Regions from separate parts of the Homo sapiens genome. Here all the other regions are linked to region 3. The links are contacts of gene promoters, found by promoter capture Hi-C in human tissues and cell types (Jung and others, 2019). All regions are on one chromosome and are shown on one strand. Each heading gives the region's core, a stretch centred on a gene start or on the middle of the fragment in contact. The rest is flanking DNA. Distances are from core to core; before and after follow the strand shown. Region 1 holds the start of ZNF768 (zinc finger protein 768). Region 2 holds the start of ZNF688 (zinc finger protein 688). Region 3 holds the start of TBX6 (T-box transcription factor 6). Region 4 holds the start of LOC124903677 (a long non-coding RNA gene). Region 5 has its middle 10 kb from the start of ZNF785.

Evidence for each region. Contacts are between HindIII fragments. The study calls those that stand out against the background at their distance.
Region 1: the fragment with the promoter of ZNF768 here is called in contact with the fragment with the promoter of TBX6 in region 3 in 3 of the 25 tissues and cell types used here (dorsolateral prefrontal cortex, lymphoblastoid cells and small bowel).
Region 2: a contact is called between the fragment with the promoter of ZNF688 here and the fragment with the promoter of TBX6 in region 3, in 3 of the 25 tissues and cell types used here (H1 embryonic stem cells, hippocampus and lymphoblastoid cells).
Region 4: a contact is called between a fragment that was not itself captured here and the fragment with the promoter of TBX6 in region 3, in 1 of the 25 tissues and cell types used here (hippocampus).
Region 5: a contact is called between a fragment that was not itself captured here and the fragment with the promoter of TBX6 in region 3, in 1 of the 25 tissues and cell types used here (lymphoblastoid cells).

The regions. Positions count from the first base shown.
Region 1 is chr16:30,523,978-30,528,044 of GRCh38, reverse strand. ZNF768 (zinc finger protein 768) reads left to right here and starts at 1,479. Exons shown (of 2, transcript NM_024671.4): 1 at 1,479-1,719; 2 at 1,994-4,041. The coding sequence starts at 1,632. The coding sequence ends at 3,528. RefSeq lists enhancers at 94-393, 1,974-2,033 and silencers at 464-1,293, 1,384-1,703, 1,724-1,773. The HindIII fragment of the contact is 23,531 bases long and covers 1-4,067 here.
Region 2 is chr16:30,568,943-30,572,978 of GRCh38, reverse strand. It overlaps ZNF688 (zinc finger protein 688), which reads left to right and starts at 1,265. Exons shown (of 3, transcript NM_145271.4): 1 at 1,265-1,545; 2 at 1,856-1,969; 3 at 2,543-3,253. The coding sequence starts at 1,350. The coding sequence ends at 3,063. RefSeq lists a silencer at 1,258-1,497 and enhancers at 2,360-2,923, 2,924-3,489. The HindIII fragment of the contact is 17,900 bases long and covers 1-4,036 here.
Region 3 is chr16:30,089,378-30,093,871 of GRCh38, reverse strand. It overlaps TBX6 (T-box transcription factor 6), which reads left to right and starts at 1,948. Exons shown (of 9, transcript NM_004608.4): 1 at 1,948-1,999; 2 at 2,631-2,796; 3 at 2,880-3,114. The coding sequence starts at 2,679. It overlaps YPEL3 (yippee like 3), which reads left to right. Exons shown (of 4, transcript NM_031477.5): 4 at 1,073-1,558. The coding sequence ends at 1,162. RefSeq lists enhancers at 1,289-1,478, 2,611-3,484 and a silencer at 1,699-1,958. The HindIII fragment of the contact is 30,865 bases long and covers 1-4,494 here.
Region 4 is chr16:30,546,919-30,550,961 of GRCh38, reverse strand. LOC124903677 (a long non-coding RNA gene) reads left to right here and starts at 2,699. Exons shown (of 2, transcript XR_007065050.1): 1 at 2,699-2,845. The HindIII fragment of the contact is 3,144 bases long and covers 778-3,921 here.
Region 5 is chr16:30,593,636-30,597,860 of GRCh38, reverse strand. No RefSeq gene overlaps it. Among named protein-coding and RNA genes, the nearest start is that of ZNF785, 10 kb to the right of the region's middle. The HindIII fragment of the contact is 3,722 bases long and covers 635-4,225 here.

The sequences.
Region 1 (4,067 bases), core at 230-2,729, 430 kb before region 3:
GAAGCGTAGAAAAAAAAGACAAGAACTGGATGATATTAAGTTGTCTGTCCAGGCTCACTTCCTCAATTCAAAGCTGCGCCCGAGGCAGTGTTTCTCAGGTTCCCTTCCTCTGCAAGACTCCATTCGAGTCAGACAAGACTGGAGAGTTGTTAGATGCCTCGAAGGCCAGATGGTTCTCTCAGTCCAATTCTCCTTTGTATCACCCTCACCTGGAAGGAATCCTGCCTCCCTGTGAGGAAATCTAACAACAGGGACTAAGGCTGCCAGGGATTGAGTTAAACTCAGGCGCTGGGGAAGGTGGAGGGGAGAGGCAAGGGGTGTGAGGCTGACGAGGAGGAAGGGTGTCTGTCCTCAGATCTTCTGGCTTTCATAAAACATAATGGAGGCTAAGTGGGGGCGGGAAAAGTTTTGATGGCACAGGCCGGGCTGGAGGGGAGATGCCTGGCACCTCCCTCCCACTACCTCCTGAAGGCGCTTCTGGCCGACAGGGGAGGCGGACCCGACCACAGCACTCCCGGCCAATCAGGAAGGCGCCTGGCGTTCCCTGGCGACCATTAACGCCCAGCCGTCCGCGGGGTTGGAGGAGGCGGGGCGGCTAGAGCACGAGCCCCATCGGCCAACCGCCGGGCTTCCTGGGGCGGAGAAGCTGTGCCTCTGGGAGCCGGGGCGGGGCTGTCTCCTTGGCAACTATCCTAGCCCTCGAGGAGGGAGGAGGGAGGAGGAGGATCAGGGGAGCCGAGCTGGGTGGGGGCCGGAGGAACGGGAGCGGGCGCGCGCAGGTGCCGGGGAGCGGAGTTCCTGGAGGGGGTCCCAGGCTCAAGGACCTCGGCGAGGCCAAGGGGAGTCCGTCCCGGTTCCCGAGGCGCTGCCGGAGCTGACCCGGAGGCCCGGGAGGGGAGGGAGCGAGACACCGCCCCCGCTGGCGCCGGGAAGCGTCGCTCCTTCTCGCTGACCTTGGTCTCGCTTGTCGCCTCGCCCTTGGCCACACGCACCGACGACGCGGGGCCCGGGAGATGGACAGACGGGCCTCTGGAGGGACGGAGACCTAGAACATAGGCACACACACTGCCCCGGTAGCCCCGCGGGCTCCGGGGCGTCCGGTCCTCACCCACCCCGTGGCCGGGCCCCTCCAGCCCAGGGTTAATGCCAACGAGTTTCCACCTCCAGCGGCTCCTAGAGAGGCCGCGGCGCGAGCCGGCGGGGGGACCTGGCCGCGGACGGACACTTCCTGTGCGGGGGAGGGTGGGGGGGTGCTGGGCGGCCGTTGGACAGTGCAGCCCAGCCCGGGGCCGGGGTCCAGAAGGTGGGGGCTCGGGCGGGAGCGGGGGCCGGGGGCCGCCGGGGTAGTCGCGAAGCCCCTCATCCCCGAGGCCGCGACGCGCGGGGGCCAGTGAGGGCCACGGGGAGGCCGAGACCTTGGGAGGGGGCGGGGCCGCGGGCAGGGGAGGGGCCCGGCGCGCTGGAGAGGCGCGGGGTCAAGACGTCCGGCCTCGGGGGCCCGGGCTGGGCCGCCGAGTCCCCTGGGCGGCGCTGAGCGGGCGGGAGGCGGGGGCCCGCGGCTCGGGGCAACCGAGGCCGGGTCGCGGGATCGGCCGCCATCGCCGCCGCCGCTGCACTGGGAGCCCGCGGGGATGGAGCGGGAGGCGTTGCCGTGGGGCCTCGAGCCCCAGGATGTGCAGAGTTCTGACGAAATGAGGAGCCCCGAAGGGTACCTCAGAGGTGAGGAGGGAGCGCCCGTCCGAGGAGTGGACTTGCGCGCAGGAGAAGGGGCTGTGGCTCCAGGGAGGGAGCGAGGGCCCGGGGCTGGGACACCTGGGACTCGAAGGAGGGGCCGGCGGGGACTGGGGTGTCTTGGGTCAGCTGAGGGGGGCGTGGGAATTTCAGCACTTGTCTAGGGGCCAGCGACCCTGCATGTGAGGTGGGAGGTGTGTGGTTGCTAATGGACCAAATGACCTTCCAGGTCTCACACGATCTGGATTCTCTCATCCTGCAGGCAACATGAGTGAGAATGAGGAAGAGGAAATTTCTCAGCAAGAAGGCAGTGGGGACTATGAAGTCGAAGAGATACCATTTGGGCTTGAACCCCAGAGCCCTGGGTTTGAGCCACAAAGCCCAGAGTTTGAACCCCAAAGCCCCAGATTTGAGCCTGAAAGCCCGGGGTTTGAGTCCCGAAGCCCTGGGCTTGTGCCCCCAAGCCCTGAGTTTGCACCCAGAAGCCCTGAATCAGATTCTCAGAGCCCTGAGTTTGAATCCCAGAGCCCTAGGTATGAACCCCAAAGCCCTGGCTATGAACCTCGGAGCCCCGGGTATGAACCCCGGAGCCCTGGCTATGAATCTGAGAGCTCTAGATATGAATCCCAGAACACTGAGCTCAAAACCCAAAGCCCAGAATTTGAAGCTCAAAGTTCCAAATTCCAGGAAGGTGCGGAGATGCTTCTGAACCCCGAGGAAAAGAGTCCTTTGAATATCTCCGTAGGAGTTCACCCCCTGGACTCCTTCACTCAGGGGTTTGGGGAGCAGCCCACAGGGGACCTGCCCATAGGGCCACCTTTTGAGATGCCCACAGGGGCCCTGCTGTCTACACCGCAGTTTGAGATGCTTCAGAATCCCCTGGGTCTCACAGGAGCCCTTCGAGGTCCAGGTCGGCGGGGTGGCCGGGCCAGGGGTGGGCAGGGCCCTCGGCCTAACATCTGTGGCATCTGCGGGAAGAGCTTCGGGCGGGGCTCCACCCTGATCCAGCACCAGCGCATCCACACCGGTGAGAAGCCCTACAAATGTGAGGTCTGCAGCAAGGCCTTCTCCCAGAGCTCTGACCTCATCAAACACCAGCGCACCCACACTGGCGAGCGGCCCTACAAATGTCCCCGTTGCGGCAAGGCCTTCGCCGACAGCTCTTACCTGCTTCGCCACCAGCGCACTCACTCTGGCCAGAAGCCCTACAAGTGCCCACATTGTGGCAAGGCCTTCGGCGACAGCTCCTACCTCCTGCGACACCAGCGCACCCACAGCCACGAGCGGCCCTACAGCTGCACCGAGTGCGGCAAGTGCTATAGCCAGAACTCGTCCCTGCGCAGCCATCAGAGGGTGCACACCGGTCAGAGGCCCTTCAGCTGTGGCATCTGCGGCAAGAGCTTCTCCCAGCGGTCGGCCCTTATCCCCCATGCCCGCAGCCACGCCCGGGAGAAGCCCTTCAAGTGCCCTGAGTGCGGCAAGCGCTTTGGCCAGAGCTCGGTGCTGGCCATCCACGCCCGCACCCACCTGCCAGGCCGCACCTACAGCTGCCCCGACTGCGGCAAGACCTTCAATCGCTCCTCCACTCTCATCCAGCACCAGCGCTCCCACACGGGCGAGCGGCCCTACAGGTGCGCCGTGTGCGGCAAGGGCTTCTGCCGCTCCTCCACGCTTCTGCAGCATCACCGGGTCCACAGTGGCGAGCGGCCTTACAAGTGCGATGACTGCGGAAAGGCCTTCTCCCAGAGCTCCGACCTCATCCGCCACCAGCGGACCCACGCGGCGGGCCGGCGCTGACCTGGGGCCCCAGCAGGGGTGGGAGGTGTGGGCAGAAGATAAGGGGCCAGGGAGCTAGAGGAACCTTTAGGGAGGATAGTGGAGAAGCCGCAGGAGAATGGAGGAGCTGAGGATGCTGGAAGAAGAGAACCAGGGTGGAGGAAGTGACATGCCCTGGAGACTTGTGGGAAGTGGGTTGGAGGGAGGCCAGGCCGGCAGCGGGAGGCCCTGGGAGAAATGGAGAGAGGTCAGCGGAGGGCTGGCCTCAGCCGCGGCTCCTTGGTGGGTGCCTGGCTTGGCAACTGCTAGAGCAGGGAGGGGGGAGGGCAGGGGATTACCTAATTAGAGTGGGTTAGCTTAGATTGGTAGCTGCTGAAACTCTCGTTGAGTCAGGAGCGGGTAAAAGGTAGGTGGGGTGGGGAGTGGGGCCCCGGGGTGGGGCCTGGGCCTCTGCGTGCAAACCCCAGCCTCCCTCTTCTTCCTCAGGCTTTGGAGCCCCTGAGTTTGAGTTCAATAAAAACTTTATGTGGTAAACGAGACTTGTCCTTAAAATGTGTGCG
Region 2 (4,036 bases), core at 16-2,515, 480 kb before region 3:
GCCTAGATAGCGCCATTGCACTCCAGCCTGGGCAAGCCGAGATAGCGCCATTGCACTCCAGCCTGGGCAACAAGAGTAAAACTCCTTCTCAAAGAAAAAGTAGAAATGGCTGGGAACCGTGGCGCATGCCTGTAATCACAGCACTTTGGGAGGCCGAGGCAGGAGAATTGCTTGAGGCCAGGAGTTCCAGACCAGCCTGGGCAACATAGCAAGACCCTGTCTCTGTTTTAAAATTTAAAAATTAGCCAAGCATTGGGTGTGCGCCTGTGGTCCCAGCTACTCGGGAGGCTGAGGTGAGAAGATCGCTTCAGCCCGGGAGGTCGAGTCTGCAGTGAGCTAGGATCGCACTGCTGGGCCACAGAGCAAGACCCTGTCTCAAAACAAACAAAAAATAAATTCATGTATGTTAGCAACAATTACTATTTAATTTAAAACTTCCCCATTCCGATTCCATCCTCACCAAGCACGTTCCTTCGCCTGCAGCTTCGGTCTAGAGCCTGAGCGAGCCGAGCTGCGGATGCCAGGGGCTGGGTGGACTCCGCAGCTAAGCTACTGTAAAACACGCACCTGCTTCTACCGCGGGTGTACACATGGTTTGCCAGGGTGTGCGCGTCTTCCCAAGGGGTCTGGGGACCAAATTCCAGCTCCCGCCATCGGGAGGCACGGTAAGAGACCGTAGGGGACACAATCCCGAGCACCGCAGATGCCGAGGTCTCCGCTGCGCTCCAGTCTGTCAACAGAGGCTTCAGGACCGCGGGGTCCCTTCAAATGCCCCGCCAGTCCCAGGCCAATCACCGCGCAGCTTCTTCCGGGATCGTCGCCAATCATCGGCCGTTGCGTATTGCGGGTACAGAGGGGTAAGTGAAGCTTCGGGCCCTTACATCTTTCTTGAAGGCAAGAAGCCTCTCCTCTACTTCCCAGACACCCCGCCTCCCCCACTAGAAAAAGCAGCCGAAGCGGCTTTATTTAAGGGCAAGTGGGACGATGAGGCCAGAGAAGTCAGAAAGGCTCCATATTTGATATGGTCAAATAATGGCGCCCTTAAGAGCAGCCTGTGACAATTGAAGGGTGGTCGCCATATTTTCAGAAGGCACCTTCCGGGTCCCTTAACCCGGGTGTCTATGTCCAAGCGGCCATGAAGTGAATAAACACTGAGGAATTATATTTGTCCCTATCAGAATCCTCGAATCCCTAGCAGCCAGTCCCTGCTACTTCGGTTGCCTCGGCTGCGTTCGGACGCCACGGCTGGGCGGGGCCGCCCTTCCTGTGGACAACGACAGCTGAGGCCGGGAGCGGGGAGGCGGCGGCTCCAGGGACCTGGCGGCCGCCGATCGGGGCTGCGAGGCCCCATGGCGCCGCCCCCAGCCCCGCTCCTGGCGCCGAGGCCCGGGGAGACCCGGCCTGGTTGCAGGAAGCCCGGGACTGTGAGCTTCGCGGACGTGGCCGTGTACTTCTCCCCGGAGGAGTGGGGCTGTCTGCGGCCCGCGCAGAGGGCTCTGTACCGGGACGTGATGCAGGAGACCTACGGCCACCTGGGCGCGCTCGGTGAGAGCCCCGGGTCCGAGCCCCCTCCTCCTTCACCGGGTTCACAGGGGAGATGATGTAGAAGGGCCGAGAGGACTGTGAGCCCTAATCCCGCACTCTTGCACCAACACCAGCAGCCACCTCCCGTTCCCAGGGCTTCAGGTACCCCCTCGGGAGTGTTTTCACCCGCATCCATTTCATTCAGGCAGCAGCACTGCAGCCCCTTCCAGGTTGAGTATAAGCTCCGAGGGGGTGCCCTCAGCCTGGAGGGGAATGCCATCTTCCCACGATGGCCTCTCAGGCCCGCGCTGTGATCCCTGTTCTCTCCCAGGATTCCCAGGCCCCAAACCAGCCCTCATCTCTTGGATGGAACAGGAGAGTGAGGCTTGGAGCCCCGCCGCCCAGGATCCTGAGAAGGGGGAAAGACTGGGAGGAGCTCGGAGAGGTGAGGGATAGTCCCGGGTCCCCCCACTTGGTTTTCCAGGGCTTCCTGTCTAGCAGAGTTTCTTTTCAGGCCCCCACTTCCAGCATCCCTAAAGAAATTCAACTGTGTTGGGTACTAGAGGAGTAAAGAAGGCAGACCTGGTACAAAGTTTTCAGAACATGGGACAGCGGTCCTGTGAGGACTGGGAGCCCAGTCCAACCAGGCACTCCAGCCTGGGTGACAGAGTGAGACTCCGTCTCAAAAATAAATAAATAAATAAATAAATAAATAAATAAATAAATAAATAATAGCCCCTGCTTCCTGAGCACTTCCTAAGTGCTTAACATGCATCTACTCAGCTAAACCAGTAACGCTGTGAAGTCAAAAGCCATTATTATTCCCATTTGATGCATAAGGAACCAAGGCTCAGATAAGGCACTTTTAGGAGATCTGAATCCTGTTTACCTTGTTCTAAAGCCTGTGTGTTAATCACTGGACAGAACTTCCCTCACTGCCTTAAGTGAAAAGCATTCTATAACCTGAGACAGTCTGTGCAAAAGTGTTTGTAAGTGTAACTTAATTCCGGTTTCCCAGGAGATGTCCCAAACAGGAAGGAAGAGGAACCGGAGGAAGTCCCAAGAGCCAAAGGGCCTAGAAAGGCTCCTGTGAAGGAGAGTCCTGAAGTGCTGGTGGAACGCAACCCTGACCCAGCTATTAGCGTGGCCCCGGCACGGGCACAGCCACCCAAAAATGCTGCCTGGGACCCGACCACAGGAGCACAGCCCCCGGCACCCATACCCAGCATGGATGCTCAGGCCGGCCAGCGGCGCCACGTGTGCACGGACTGCGGCCGCCGCTTCACCTACCCCTCACTGCTGGTCAGCCACAGGCGCATGCACTCGGGGGAGCGGCCTTTCCCCTGCCCCGAGTGTGGCATGCGCTTCAAGAGGAAGTTCGCAGTGGAAGCGCACCAGTGGATCCACCGCTCCTGCTCCGGGGGGCGGCGGGGCCGGAGGCCTGGGATCCGGGCTGTGCCTCGGGCCCCCGTCCGAGGTGACCGGGACCCGCCTGTGCTCTTCCGGCACTACCCAGACATCTTCGAGGAGTGCGGCTGAGCGGCACCGCAGGCTGGAGTTGAGCCTGACCTTGGCACGAAGGACTGACGGATCCCTGAGGTGGGCCACTGAGTCGGGGACTCCGGAACTGAAATTCATGCCCTGGGCTTTCCTCAAGGATCCCTCAAGTTTCCAACTTGTAAAAAGAAAAGTGCCTGTAAAGATTCGAATAGATTAGACTTGCCACCCATCTCCCCAGTCTTTTGTTTAACAAAAAAAAAAAAAAAAAAAAAAAAAAAGAAGAGAGTGAGACCCTGGACTCATTTCAAAGTGTTATCTGAAGATCAGGTGCAACAGAGACCTTTATATCATCTCAGGAACTAGCCACTCCTTATCTATTTCAGATGCAGATGCTGAGGGGGACCAGGGCCTGGGGAGGGGACCTACATGGAGGGCGTGGTCAAACCCTGGCTAATTGTCATCAGCAGGGGACCCAGACACTGGAGTGGATGGGAGTAGAATAGATGCAGGTGGCACAAATCCAGCCTCTGTTGGGAGACCAAGGAGGGAGGATCGTTTGAGTCCAGGAGTTCAGACCAGCCTGAGCAACAGGCTATCTAGCGATATCTAGATATCTAGGATATCACTATCTAGAGATAGTGAAATCCTATCTCTACAAAAAAAAAAAAAAAAAATGAACCAGGCATAGTGGCACATCGTGCCTGTGGTCCCAGCCACTTGGGAGGCTGAGGTGGGAGGACTGCTTGAGCCCAGGAGTTCAAGGCTACAGTGAGCTATGATTGTGCCACTGTACTACAGTCTGGGCAACAGAGCAAGACTTCATTTCTTTCTTTTATTTTTTTTGAGACAGGGTCTCACTCTGTCACTAAGGGTGGAGTACAGTGGCGCCATCTCAGCTCACTGCAACCTCTGCCTCCCAGGTTCAAGCAATTCTCCTGCCTCAGCCTCCTGAGTAGCTGGGATTACAGGTGCACGCCACCATGCCCTACTAATTTTTGCATTTTCAGTAGAG
Region 3 (4,494 bases), core at 699-3,198:
TCACACCTGTAATCCCAGCACTTTGGGAGGCCGAGGCGGGTGGATCACAAGGTCAGGAGATTGAGACCATCCTGGCTAACACGGTGAAACCCCATCTCTACCAAAAATACAAAAAAAAAAAAAAAAAATCAGCTGGGTGTGGTGGCGGGCGCCTCTAGTCCCAGCTACTCATGAGGTTGAGGCAGGAGAATTGCGTGAACCCAGGAGGCAGAGCCTTGCAGTGAGCGGAGACAGAGCGAGACTCCGTTTCAAAAATAATAATAATTAATAAAGAGCTGGCCTAAACAAGAGGTCAAAAACTCAAGTGCCAGGCTGGGTGTGGTGGCTCACGCCTGTAATCCCAGCACTTTTGGGAGTCTGAGGCAGGTGGATCACCTGAGGTCAGGAGTTCGAGAACAGCCTGACTAACATGGTGAAACCCCATCTCTACTAAAAATACAAAAATTAGCTCGGCGTGGTGGTGGGCGCCTGTAATCCCAGCTACTCGGGGCCAAGGCAGCAGAATCACTTGAACCCGGGAAGCGGAGGTTGCAGTGAGCCGATATCGCGCCGTTGCACTTCCAGCCTGGGCGACAGAGCAAGACTCCCTCTCAAAACCAAACAAACAAAAAAACCTCAAGTGCCTGCAAGGCCAAGCAGATACTGTAGATGTGTAAAGGGTAGCATAGATTGGCAGGGTTGGGAGTTGGGGGCAGGCTGGGCAAACTGGAGTGAGCAAGGCCTACTTATATTTTAATACTTTAAAGTTATTTTTATTAAACTGTCTGCTGTCCAAACATAATACATGTTGTAGGCCAAAATGGCCATGAAGCTACCAGTTTGCAAACCCTGAACTGTGAAATCTTTTAGCCACTTCCCTATCTTCTCTGTTGGAGCCATCATTAGTACTTAAAAAAGTACCTTTGAGTCAGGGAGTTCTATTCTACTCTGTGTTTGTGAGAAATACGGCCCTGCCCCTCTGGGCCACAGTTTCCTCATATGTAAAATGGGGCCACTCATGTCCACTTCCCAACCCCAGTGCCTTGTGGTGAGACTGTTGCTCCGGGGATGACGGTCCCGCCCCTCCTTTCAGGAACAGGCCTTTGAGAGCAGCCAGAAGTACAAAGAGGGGAAGTACATCATTGAACTCAACCACATGATCAAAGACAACGGCTGGGACTGACCCCCGCTCCCCCGACGCATGTGGCTCCAGCCCGGCCTGGCCGCCAGGGAGCGCCACTGGCTTCCCGCCACCCGAAGGGAGCTCTGGACCCTCAGAGCCCCTGCAGAGGACGGATCTAGCTCCTGTATATATATTTTATTGCATGCACTGTGACCTTGGGGGGAGAACAGAAGGGGGACGACGCCCCCGCACCTCCTGCGATCTGGCTGGCTTGGATCTCGTTTTTAACCCGTTCCTGCCCCACCTGCCCTATAGTTATGGCCTGTGTTCTGCTCTCCTGGTCCCAGTGCACCGTCTGCTCTGTGAACTCCTCCCACCAGGCCCTTCTTACCCCACGCGTGTCTGTCCCCCTCGTTCTGTAGCGTTTGTACATAATAAAACAATGGAGTGGAGACAGCTCAGGCTCGCGTGTAATCCGGGAAGGGGGAGCTCAAGCGGAGATTTCCGCCCCTATAGACCTGTGCGGTTCTGAGCCCCGGCGGGGCATGGGGTAGGCACAGCCGTCCAAGCTGGGTCTCCGGGAACCGGGACGGTTTCACTGCTGGCGGAGGTCCTGAGCCCACTCTGGCTGCCTACGCCGTGACCTCGGCTGATCTGCGTCTGCTCATCTGCAGCGTTTGGCCGCCGCCTAGGGGCAGCGTCCCAGGGAGGCAACCGCGCCGCCGGCCTCGCAGCCCCCTCGCGGTCGGACTGCAACTCCCAGCGGCCCCCGCGTGGTCCGTCCGGCTCCTTCGGGCGCGCCTCAGCGCTGAGCCTGCCGGGAAGTGTAGTTCCGAGGGTTCCCCAGCGCGGGACCTTCGGGAAACCCTGGCGCGAGGCGTCAGAAGCTGTCGGACTGTGAGCGCCTTCGAACTTTGGAGGCTTGGCTCGGGATGGAGGTTTTTTTAGCATGGGGACCAGGGAGGACTACGGTGCTCGGGACTGGGCTGCGGCCTCCTCGCGGCCCCGAGTGCCCTGTGAAATCAGCTCAGGCCGCGTCCCTCTAGCCTGCACTTTCCCTCTGTTCACGCTGCTTCCCTCCAGGGCCCGGCCTCCAAGTGAAGGGGGGCGGAGGGCGGTCACCTGCCAGAAGGTCTGGGGCGCCAAGGTGTGTCCCGGGACTCTTGGCTCCGTCCAGGTTCCAGGCCCCGCCCCCCAGCTTATCCCTAGCCGGGGCTCCCCACCGTGGGAACGGGGACCAGCTGGCCGGAAGCGCCAAACTGCGTCCCTGTCCGAGCCCTGGGGATCAATCAAGCCGAGGAGTTAATTATGTAATGAGGGGGCAGGGGGTCGAGGCTAATGAAGCCTCCCGGGGTGGGGAGGGAGGGGAGGAGGGGACCGTACCCAGGTATCCGACCCCCTCTCGGACCCCTTCGAGGCCCCAGGGGTCTCCACCCCAGCCCAACTCCAGGGCCCCAAAGAGGGGAGGGGCTGTGATCCTGGATCTGGAAGGGGCTGAGCTGTGAGCTATAAAGGGGGCATCTCGCAGCACCGGGGGCCCTAAGCAGCGAGACCTGAGGCCAGACGGAACTACAACATGTACCATCCACGAGAATTGTACCCGTCCCTGGGGGCCGGCTACCGCCTGGGGCCCGCCCAACCTGGGGCCGACTCCAGCTTCCCACCCGCCCTAGCGGAGGGCTACCGCTACCCCGGTGAGCGTTGGGACCAGCTCCTGGGTAGGAGAATAGGGGGGCTGTGGCCCTCGGCTGGCTCCTCATTCTTCCCCGGCTTCCAGAACTGGACACCCCTAAACTGGATTGCTTCCTCTCCGGGATGGAGGCTGCTCCCCGCACCCTGGCCGCGCACCCACCTCTGCCCCTTCTGCCCCCTGCCATGGGCACTGAGCCGGCCCCATCAGCTCCAGAGGCCCTCCATTCCCTCCCGGGGGTCAGCCTGAGCCTGGAGAACCGGGAGCTATGGAAGGAGTTCAGCTCTGTGGGAACAGAAATGATCATCACCAAAGCTGGGAGGTGAGGGGCTGGCCAGGGTCCGTGTTTCTGGTGGGGGTCTCTTGGGAAAGGCAGAGTCCCTGGGGAGGGGGCTAGGACTGGGTGGTTCCCGAGGGGCTAGAGCTCTGCCTAGGCCTAGAATCTGACTATGGCCTGGGGCAAGGGTTACTCTGTGGCAGGAATCAGGAGTCACTCTGTGACAAGGGTTAAGGGCCAGTCTGTGGAGTCTGTGGCTGAGTTTAGGGACCAATCTATGGCAAGGGTCATGGGTCAGTCTGGGGCAGGGTCAGGAAGTCCCTCTGGGTTATAGGTTAGTGTGTGGCTTAGACCAGCATCCAGACAAGGACAGGGGGTCAAGGGCCAGCCCATTGACCAGCATCAGGGAAATCTGGCCAGGATTCGGGATCAGTATGCAACTCGAATAGGAGTCAGTATATGACTAGGTCCAGGGTCACCCTAGAGGCAGGGACACGGTCAGTGTTTGACCTTAGATGAGGTCTTTAGCTGGGGCAGGAACTCAAGCCCTAGCATGGAAAGTCCTCGGCCCTACTGCAGGCAGGGTATATTTTTTCTAAAGCAAATTCATCTAAGAGCTGCAGATTCTGGTGCTGGAGATCAGGGGAGGAGAGGAGGGTGGGGACAGGAAGCTCCTAGCAAGAAAGTTAGTCACCCCTGCTTCTGCAAATAGGCTTTGAGGGGTAGGAGTCATGGCTCTGTTCCTAACCTGCTGTGTGACAGATCACTTAACCCGTCTGTCCTGTTTCCCCAAATGTAAAATGAGACAAGAAAACCTTCCAGCTCTAAGATTCCGCCCTCTGGCTTCTTTTTTTTTTTTTTTTTTTTTTTGAGATGGAGTCTCGCTCTGTTGCCCAGGCTAGAGTGTAGTGGCACGATCTCGTCAGCTCACCGCAACCTCTGCTTCCTGGATTCAAGCGATTCTCCTGCCTCAGCCTCCCGAGTAGCTGGGACTATAGGCACACACCACCACACCCGGCTAATTTTTGTAGTTTTAGTAGAGACGGTGTTTCACCATATTGGCCAGGCTGGTCTCAAACTTCTGACCTCATGATCCTTCCACCTCGGCTTCCTAAAGTGCTGAGATTACAGGCATGAGCCACTGCGCCTGGCCCTTTTTCATTTTTCAGAGACAGTGTCTTGCCCTGTTGCCCAGGCTGGAGTGCAGTGGTGCAATTGTGGCTCACTGTAGTCTTGACTTCCCAGGCTCAAGTGACCCTCCCGCCTCAGCCTCTGTAGTAACTGGGACTATCAGTGTGCACCACCATGCCTGGCTAATTTTTTAATTTTTTTGTAGAGATGGGGTCTTTCTATGTTGCCCAGGCTGGTCTTGAATTCCTGACTCAAGAGATCCTCCCACCTTGGCCTCCCAAAGTATAGGGATTA
Region 4 (4,043 bases), core at 1,100-3,599, 460 kb before region 3:
AAACTCCGTCTCGGGCCAGGCGCGGTGGCTCACACCTGTAATCCCAGCACGTTGGCAGGCTGAGGCGGGCGGATCATGAGGTCAGGAGATTGAGACCATCCTGGCTAACATGGTGAAACCCTGTCTCTACTAAAAATACAAAAAAAATTAGCCGGGCAAGGTGGTGGGCGCCTGTAGTCCCAGCTACTCAGGAGGCTGAGGCAGGAGAATGGCGTGAACCCAGGAGGCGGAGGTTGCAGTGAGCTGAGATTGCACCACTGCACACTCCAGCCTGGATGACAAAGCGAGACTCTGTCTCAAAAAAAAAAAAAAAAAAAAAGAGTGAAACTCCGTCTCAAAAAATAATAATAATAAAATAAGGCTAGGTGTTGATCTGAGCTCCAAGACCCCTAAAACTCCTTGGAATGTTTGTGTATGTGTGTGTCTCTAGGAATAGGCATGTAGGCATGCAAAGATGTATATGACCCAAAGAAGTTAATACTAGGCTAGTATTTTCAAATAAGGCCTCCCTGATGCAGAATCACGAGGTTATCTTTTATTATTATTATCATTATTATTATTTTGAGACGGTCTGTCTGTGTCACCCAGGTTAGAATGCAGTGGTGTGATCTTAGCTCACTGCAGCCTTGAATTCCTGGGCTCAAGCCATCCTCCCGCCTCAGTCCTGCATAGCTGGGACTACAAGTGTGCACCATTATACCTGGCTAATTAAAAAAAAAAAATTTTTTAGAGAAAAGTTCTCACTCTGTCACCCAGGCTGGTCTTTCTTTTGTTGTTATGGGTTTTTATTTTTGGAACCTGTCTCAGGAGCCCAGGCTGGTCTCAAACTCCTGACCTTGAGTGATCCTCCCATCTCAGCCTCCCAAAGTGCTGGGATTACAGGTGTGAACCACTGTGCCTGGCTGAGTGTCTTTTAAAAATGTAGGTTGCCAGGCGCAGTGGCTCATGCCTATAATCCCAGCACTTTGGGAGCCCAATGGGAGCAGATCACTTGAGCCCCAGAAGTTTAAGACCAGTCTGGGCAACATGGCGAAAACCCATCTCTACAACAATTAGCTAGGCGCGGTGGCTCACACATGTAATCTCAGCACTTTGGGAGGCCGAGGTGGGTGGATCACGAGGTCAAGAGATCAAGACCAGCCTGGCCAACATGGTGAAACCCCATTTCTACTAAAAACACAAAAATTAGCTGGGTGTGATTGCAGGCGCCTGTAGTCTCAGCTACTCAGGAGGCTGAGGCAGGAGAATCACTTGAACCCAGGAGGCGGAGGTTGCAGTGAGCCGAGATCACGCCACTGCACTCCAGCCTGGTCGACAGAGTGAGACTCCATCTCAAAAAAAAAAAAAAGAGAGAGAGATAAAGGCATGTCAGGCCAGGCAGTGACTCATGCCTGTAATCTCAGCACTTTGCTGAGTGACAGAAGAAGACTGACTCTGTCTCCAGAAAAAAACAGGCACGTTCAGAGAACAAAGATTCCATCCATTTAGCTGGAGCTAAGTGGGATCGTTTGCCTGTAGGGAAAGATGGGGGTTTGACTTTGAGAAGGTTGGTTTGCCATGGGCCTGGAAGGTCATGGGGGTACTGGCTATGAACACTTTTTTGAGACAGGGTCTCGCTCTGTCGCCCAGGCTGGAGTGTAGTGGCGTGATCTGGGCCCACTGCAGCCTCAACCTCCTGGACTCAAGTGATCCTCCCACCTCAGCCTCCCAAGTACCTGGGACCACACGCACTTGCCACCACGCCCAGCTAATAGAGCCCATGCCTCTATCTTAATGAGCCTTTGTTCTAGCTACTCTGTTCTATATAGGCTACACTTGCAAATCAAATTCCTCTGTCAATGACCTTCAATGCTATCTCTAAGAAATTCCTCCAGGAGTCTGTCTGTCCCATGCTAGAAGCCTCAGAACTGTGCCTCTGTGTTTTTATCCTGGACACAATCTGCCTAGAAGGTCTTCCCCAAACTCGTGTCAGCTGAATTCATACCTGGTATCTCTCTCCCCCAGCTTAGTGTAAACTTAGTGCAGGGACTTTATCTTGCCTCACCAATGTCTTCGCCACCCAAGAATAATGCTTGGCACACAAGAGGGGGCCAATACATTTTTATGAAATGAATGTAGACTTAGGATATGTGTCTGTTTTTTGATATGTTTCCTGAGTGGTCAGTGTTCTTCCCCAGGATTCCCTGACTCCAAACCAGCCCTCTGTTAGGGACAAACTGCCCAAGAAACCTTCTTGGTGCTGTCCACCCATCCCCCAAGCCTCTTTACATTTCTAAGCCCTTACCTAGGCACCACGGTGAAGCCAGCAGACTTTGCTTATCAGACCTTGCTGCAATAAGCAAACCCCAATTACAAACCACCCACACTGCACAGGGGGAGGTCATGGGAAACATAAACAAACTTTACCTACACCCTCCTGTAATAAACGTCACAAGGTAATATGTAGCAAAATTAACCAGCAAACAACCCCAGGATGCGGCCATACGAAAGAACTCCATCAAACTCCCCTCCCCAATATAAACCCCTCATTCTGTAAGCTTGGGGCTACTTCCTCTCTGACTGTTAAGGGAGCAGCCAGCAGGTTAATAAAAAGTTACCTGCCTAACTTTGGGTCTGTTTTTCCTTTCTCTTGGCTGACCTTACATTCTGGTGCCAAAACCCGGGAAGGGGATAGCCTCTGGCCAGGACTCACTCACTCACTCACTCTCTCTGTCTGTCTCCCTCCCTACTCCCTACCCTATCACCCCTCTTCCAGCCAATCTCCCCTTCCCTGAACCTGCCAAAGACCCAGAGAATCTCCTAGACTCTCCCATTGCTGACGACTTCATCCACCACCTCCACCAGGGTGAGTAAAAAGAGACTGTTGCCGTTCCTCAGAACCCTTGACCATCCATCTCTCCATTTCTGAAAGACCCAGCGCTGGGCCAAGGGCTTCCTCCGGCCTGTGGGCCTCTGGTTCCTCCATTTTAGGGATGCCTGACACGGCAGTTACCTCCTCTATTCCGGACAAGTTCCGCAAGAAAGGGGACGCCCTCTCCCACCGTCCTTGTCAGCAGCAGTCTCTTCTTCCTCTACCCCTACCTCCTCCATTCCGCAATCTCAATGCTCTCGGGCTCCATTCAGAGGTCCGTTCTTTTTTTTTTTTTTTGAGACGGAGTCTCGCTCTGTTGCCCATGCTGGAGTGTAGTGGCATGATCTCGGCTCACTGCAAGCTCCGCCTCCTGGGTTCACGCCATTCTCCTGCCTCAGCCTCCCGAGTAGCTGGGACTACAGGTGCCCGCCACCACGCTCGGCTAATTTTTTGTATTTTTAGTAGAGACGGGGTTTTACCGTGTTAGCCAGGATGGTCTCGATCTCCTGACCTCATGATCCGCCCGCCTCGGCCTCCCAAAGTGCTGAGATTACAGGCGTGAGCCACCACACCCGGCCCAGAGGTCTGTTCTAAGAGGCTTATCTTTTACTGCAATACCACATGGCCTCAATACCAACTGGACAGTGGCTCCCAATGGCCCAAAAATAGCACTTTACAACTTTTGCCATCACAGTGGGAAATGGTCTGAGATTCCTTATGTTCAGGTTTTCTTTAAGGGAGGAGACCACCCCTCATATTGTTTTATGCCCAATTTCTGCCTCCAAAGAAAGAAGAAGTAAAAGGCAGAAATGAAATCCACAAGCAGACAGCCCAGTGCCACACACTGGGCCCGGTAGTTAAAGATCGACCCCTGACCTAATCGGTTATCTTATCTATAGATTACAGACATTGTATAGAAAAGCACTGTGAAAATCCCTGTCCTGGGCTGGGCGCGGTGGCTCACGCCTGTAATCCCAGCACTTTGGGAGGCCGAGGCGGGTGGATCACAAGGGCAGGAGATTGAGACCATCCTGGCTAACATGGTGAAACCCCGTCTCTACTAAATGTACAAAAAATTAGCCGGGCGTGATGGCGGGCGCCTGTAGTCCCAGCTACTTGGGAGGCTGAGGCAGGAGAATGGTGTGAGCCTGGGAGACGGAGCTTGCAGTGAGCAGAGATCGCGCCACTGCAC
Region 5 (4,225 bases), core at 1,246-3,745, 500 kb before region 3:
ACAAGAGCAAAACTCCATCTCAAAAAATTTAAAAAAAAATAAATAACTTGTCCAGGATCACATATCTGGGTGACTGTAAAGTCAGCTGCCATGCAATTATTCTAAGACTGTCCTTTAAGATAACTGATGACCTAGTTAACAAATCAGTGCTTCAATTTTTATCTTACATACCTTAGTTTTCCTACTTAAGCTCTCTTGTAACTTAGCTTTCATGCCCCGCATTCTTCTAGTCTTCCTGGTGCCGCTTGTGGCTTCTGCTAGTGCGTACATGTGAGAATTCCTTCCCAGCAAGAAAGAGTCTTGCTCTGTGGCCCAGGCTGGAGTGCAGTTGTGTGATCATGGCTCACTGCAGCTTCTACTTCCCTGAGCTCAAGTGATCCTCCTGCTTCAGCCTCCTGAGTAGTTGGGACCACAGGCATGTGCCACCACACCCAACTAATTTTTTTGTATTCTTTGTAGGGATGAGGTTTCTCCATGTTGCCCAGGCTGGTCTCGAACTCCTGGGCTCAAGCAATCCTCCTGCCTTGGCTTCCTAGAGTGCTGGGATTACAGGTGTGGGCCACCTCGCCCGGCCTTATGTTTTTTCCAAATCCCAAAAATAATCAGTAAAGAAATTGGGAAAATGCAAAAAAGTGATAATTATTTATTATTTGTTTGTTTGTGTGTTTATTCATTTATTATTTTTGAGATAGAGTCTTACTCTGTTGCCCAGGCTGGAGTGCAACGGCAAGATCTCGGCTCACTGCAACCTCTGTCTCCTAGGTTCAAGCAATTCTCCTGCCTCAGCCTCCCAAGTAGCTAGGATTACAGGCGTGCGCCACCACGCCCGGCTAATTTTTTTTTTTTTTTGTATTTTTAGTAGAGATGGGGTTTCACCATGTTGGCCAGGCTGGTCTTGAACTCCTGATCTCAGGTGATTCACCTGCCTCAGCCTCCCAAAGTGCTGGGATTACAGGCGTGAGTCACCACGCCCAGCTCATCTGTATATCTTCTTTGGAGAAATGTCTATATAAATCCTATGCCTGCTTTCATCTTTTTTTTTTTTAATTCTTTTTTTGAGTGGTGTCTTGCTCTGTTGCCCAGGTTGGAATGCTGTGGTGCCATTTTGGCTCACTGCACCCTCCACCTCCCAGGCTCAAGTGATTTTCATGCCTTAGCCTCCTGAGTAGCTGGGATTACAGGTCTGTGCCACAATGCCGGCTAATTTTTGTATTTTTAGCAGAAATGGAGTTTCATCATCTCTGTTGGCTAGGCTGGTCTCGAATTTCTGGCCTCAAGTGATCTGCCTGTCTTGGCCTCCCAAAGTGCTGGGATGACAGTGTGAGCCACCGTGCCCAGCCTCTTTGCCTGCTTTTAAATTGGGTTTTTATTTTTTAGTGGTTGTTGAGTTACCGGAGTTATTTATAAATTCTGAATATTAATCCCTTATTAGACACATGATTTACAAATATTTTCTCCCATTCTGTGGAGTGTCTTTTCATTCTCAATAGTGGTTTTGCTTTTTTTTTTCTTTTGAGATGAAGTCTCACTCCATTGCCCAGGCTGGAGTGCAATGGTGCGATCTTGGCTCACTACAACCTTCACTTCCCAGGTTCAAGCGATTCTCGGGCCTCAGCCTCCCAGAGTAGCTGGGATTACAGGCATGAGCTACCATGCCCAGCTAATTTTTGTATTTTTAGTAGAGATGGAGTTTCACAATGTTGGCCAGGCTGGTCTCAAACTCCTGACCTTAGGCGATCCACCTGCCTCAGACTCCCAAAGTGCTAGGAGTACAGGTGTGAGCCACTGCACCCAGCCACCATTCATTTTAAAAGTTTTGAAAGACACAGTAAAGTTGAAGGACTTTTACAGAGAATACCCATATACTCACCACCTAGATTCTATCACTAACATTTAGTGTATCTGCTTTATCATGTAACTATCAGTTACTCTACCAGTACACTTTGTTTTTGGGTGCATGTAAAAAAAATTGCTGAAATCAGTACACTTCACCCGTAAACATTTCAACATGCATATCATTAACTAGAGCTCCACGTTTGTTTTATATATTTTTTGAGTTAAAAGTACATAAAATGCACAAACTTTAAGTGTATATTTGCTGAGTGTTGACAAAGACGTATACATCTGTAACTGAAACCCCTATCCAAATACATAACATTACCATCATCCTAGAAAGTTGCCTCATGTGGCTGGGTACAGTGGCTCATGCCTGTAATCCCAGTAGTTTGGGAGGCTGAGGCAGGCAGATCACGAGGTCAGGAGTTCGAGACCATCCTGGCCAATATGGTGAAACCCCGTCTCTACTAAAAATACAAAAATTAGCTGGGCATGGTGGCATGTGCCCATAATCCCAGCTACTAGGGAGGCTCAGGCAGGAGAAGCGCTTGAACCAGGGAGTCAAAGATTGCAGTGAGCTGAGATTCTGCCGCTGTACTCCAGCCTGGCGACAGAGTGAGATTCTGTCTCAAAAAAAAAAAAAGAAAAGAAAAGAAAGAAAGTTGCCTTATGCCCCTTCCTAGTCAATTCCCATTCCCACCCCACCAGAGACAACTACTATTCTAATTAGTGTTCCCTGTTATAAAACTTCATATAATTGGAATCATACAGTGTGTATTTTTTTTTTTTTTTTTTTTTGTCTAAAGCTTCTTTTATTCAGCATAATGTCTCTGAGTCCTACTTCTTTTTAGACTTTCTTGAGTTCAGAGCTGGGAGAGTGCTCCCACATCAATAGAGTAGTTGACAAACTCAGAAATGCTCCTCAACAATGTTATCTGTGTTCATTTGTTACTGTAAGAAATTACTAGAAACTGGTGGCTGAAAACAACACAAATTTATCGTCTTATAGTTCTTCAGGTCTAAAGTCTGAAAATAGGTCTTATGGGACAATCAAGGTGTTGGCAGGGCTGCATTCCTTTTCTAGAGGCTCTAGGGAGAATCTGTTTCTTGCCTTTTCCAGCTTCTAGAGGCTGCCTGCATTCCTTGGCTAGTGGCCCCTCTCCAGCAACTGCATCACTCCACCTCTGCTTTTGTTGTCACATATCCTTCTCAGACTTTTACCCTCTTGCCTCCCTTTTATAAGGACCATTGTGATTACATTAGACTCAACAGGTTAGTGTTCCTAACTCAAAATCCTTAGTTTAATCACATCTGCGAAGTCCTATTTGCTAATATAAGGTAACACAATCAAAGGTTTTGCAGATTAGGATGTGAAATCTTTGGGGTCCATTATTCTTCTTAATTCATACATAATAACTATACATAAATATGGGGTATGTGGTGATGTTTCTATACATATGATGTGTAGTGATCAAATCGGGGCAATTAACATACCCATCATTTAAAACATTTATTATTTCTTTGTGTTAGGAACATTCAATATCTTCTCTTCTAGCTATTTGAAAATATATAGTATATTATTGTTAACTATAGTCATCCTACGGTGCTATAAAACACTAGAACTTATTCCTCCAATATAGCTAATAATTTTATGTCCATTAACAAATTTTTCCCTATCCCACCCTTGCCCCTACCCTTCCCTTTCTAGCCTCTAGTAACATCTATTCTGCCTTTTTTTTTTTTTTTTTTTGAGATGGAGTTTTGCTGTTTGGCCCTGGCTGGAGTGAAGTGGCACAATCTCGGCTGACTGCAATCTCTTACACCTGCGTTCAGGCAATTCCTGTGCCTCAGCCTGCCGAGTAGCTGGGATTACAGGCATGTGCCACCAAGCCTGGCTAATTTTTGTATTTTTAGTAGAGACAGGGTTTTACCATACCGGCCAGGCTGGTCTCGAACTCCTGACCTCAGGTGATCCATCCACCTCGGCCTCCCAAAGTGCTAGGATTACAGGCATTAGCCACCATACCCGGCCTCCACTAACTTTTGACTCCCCAAAACTTAACTACTGTTGACTGGAAGCCTTACCAATAACATAAATAGTCAATTAAAACATGTTTTGGGGTTGGGTGCCATGGCGCATGCCTGTAATCCCAGCTGAGGCTGAGCCAGGAGGATTGCTTGAGCTTGGGAGGTGGAGGTTGCAGTGAGCCGAGATCTCACCACTGCACTCCAGCCTGGGTGACAGAGCCAGACCTTGTCCTAAAAAAAAAAAATCAGATAGTAAATATTTAAATACATATATACTTTTTTGGGCTTACGCCTGTAATCCCAGCACTTTGGGAGGCTGAGGCGAGAGGACTGCTTGAGCTCAGGAGTTCGAGACCAGCCT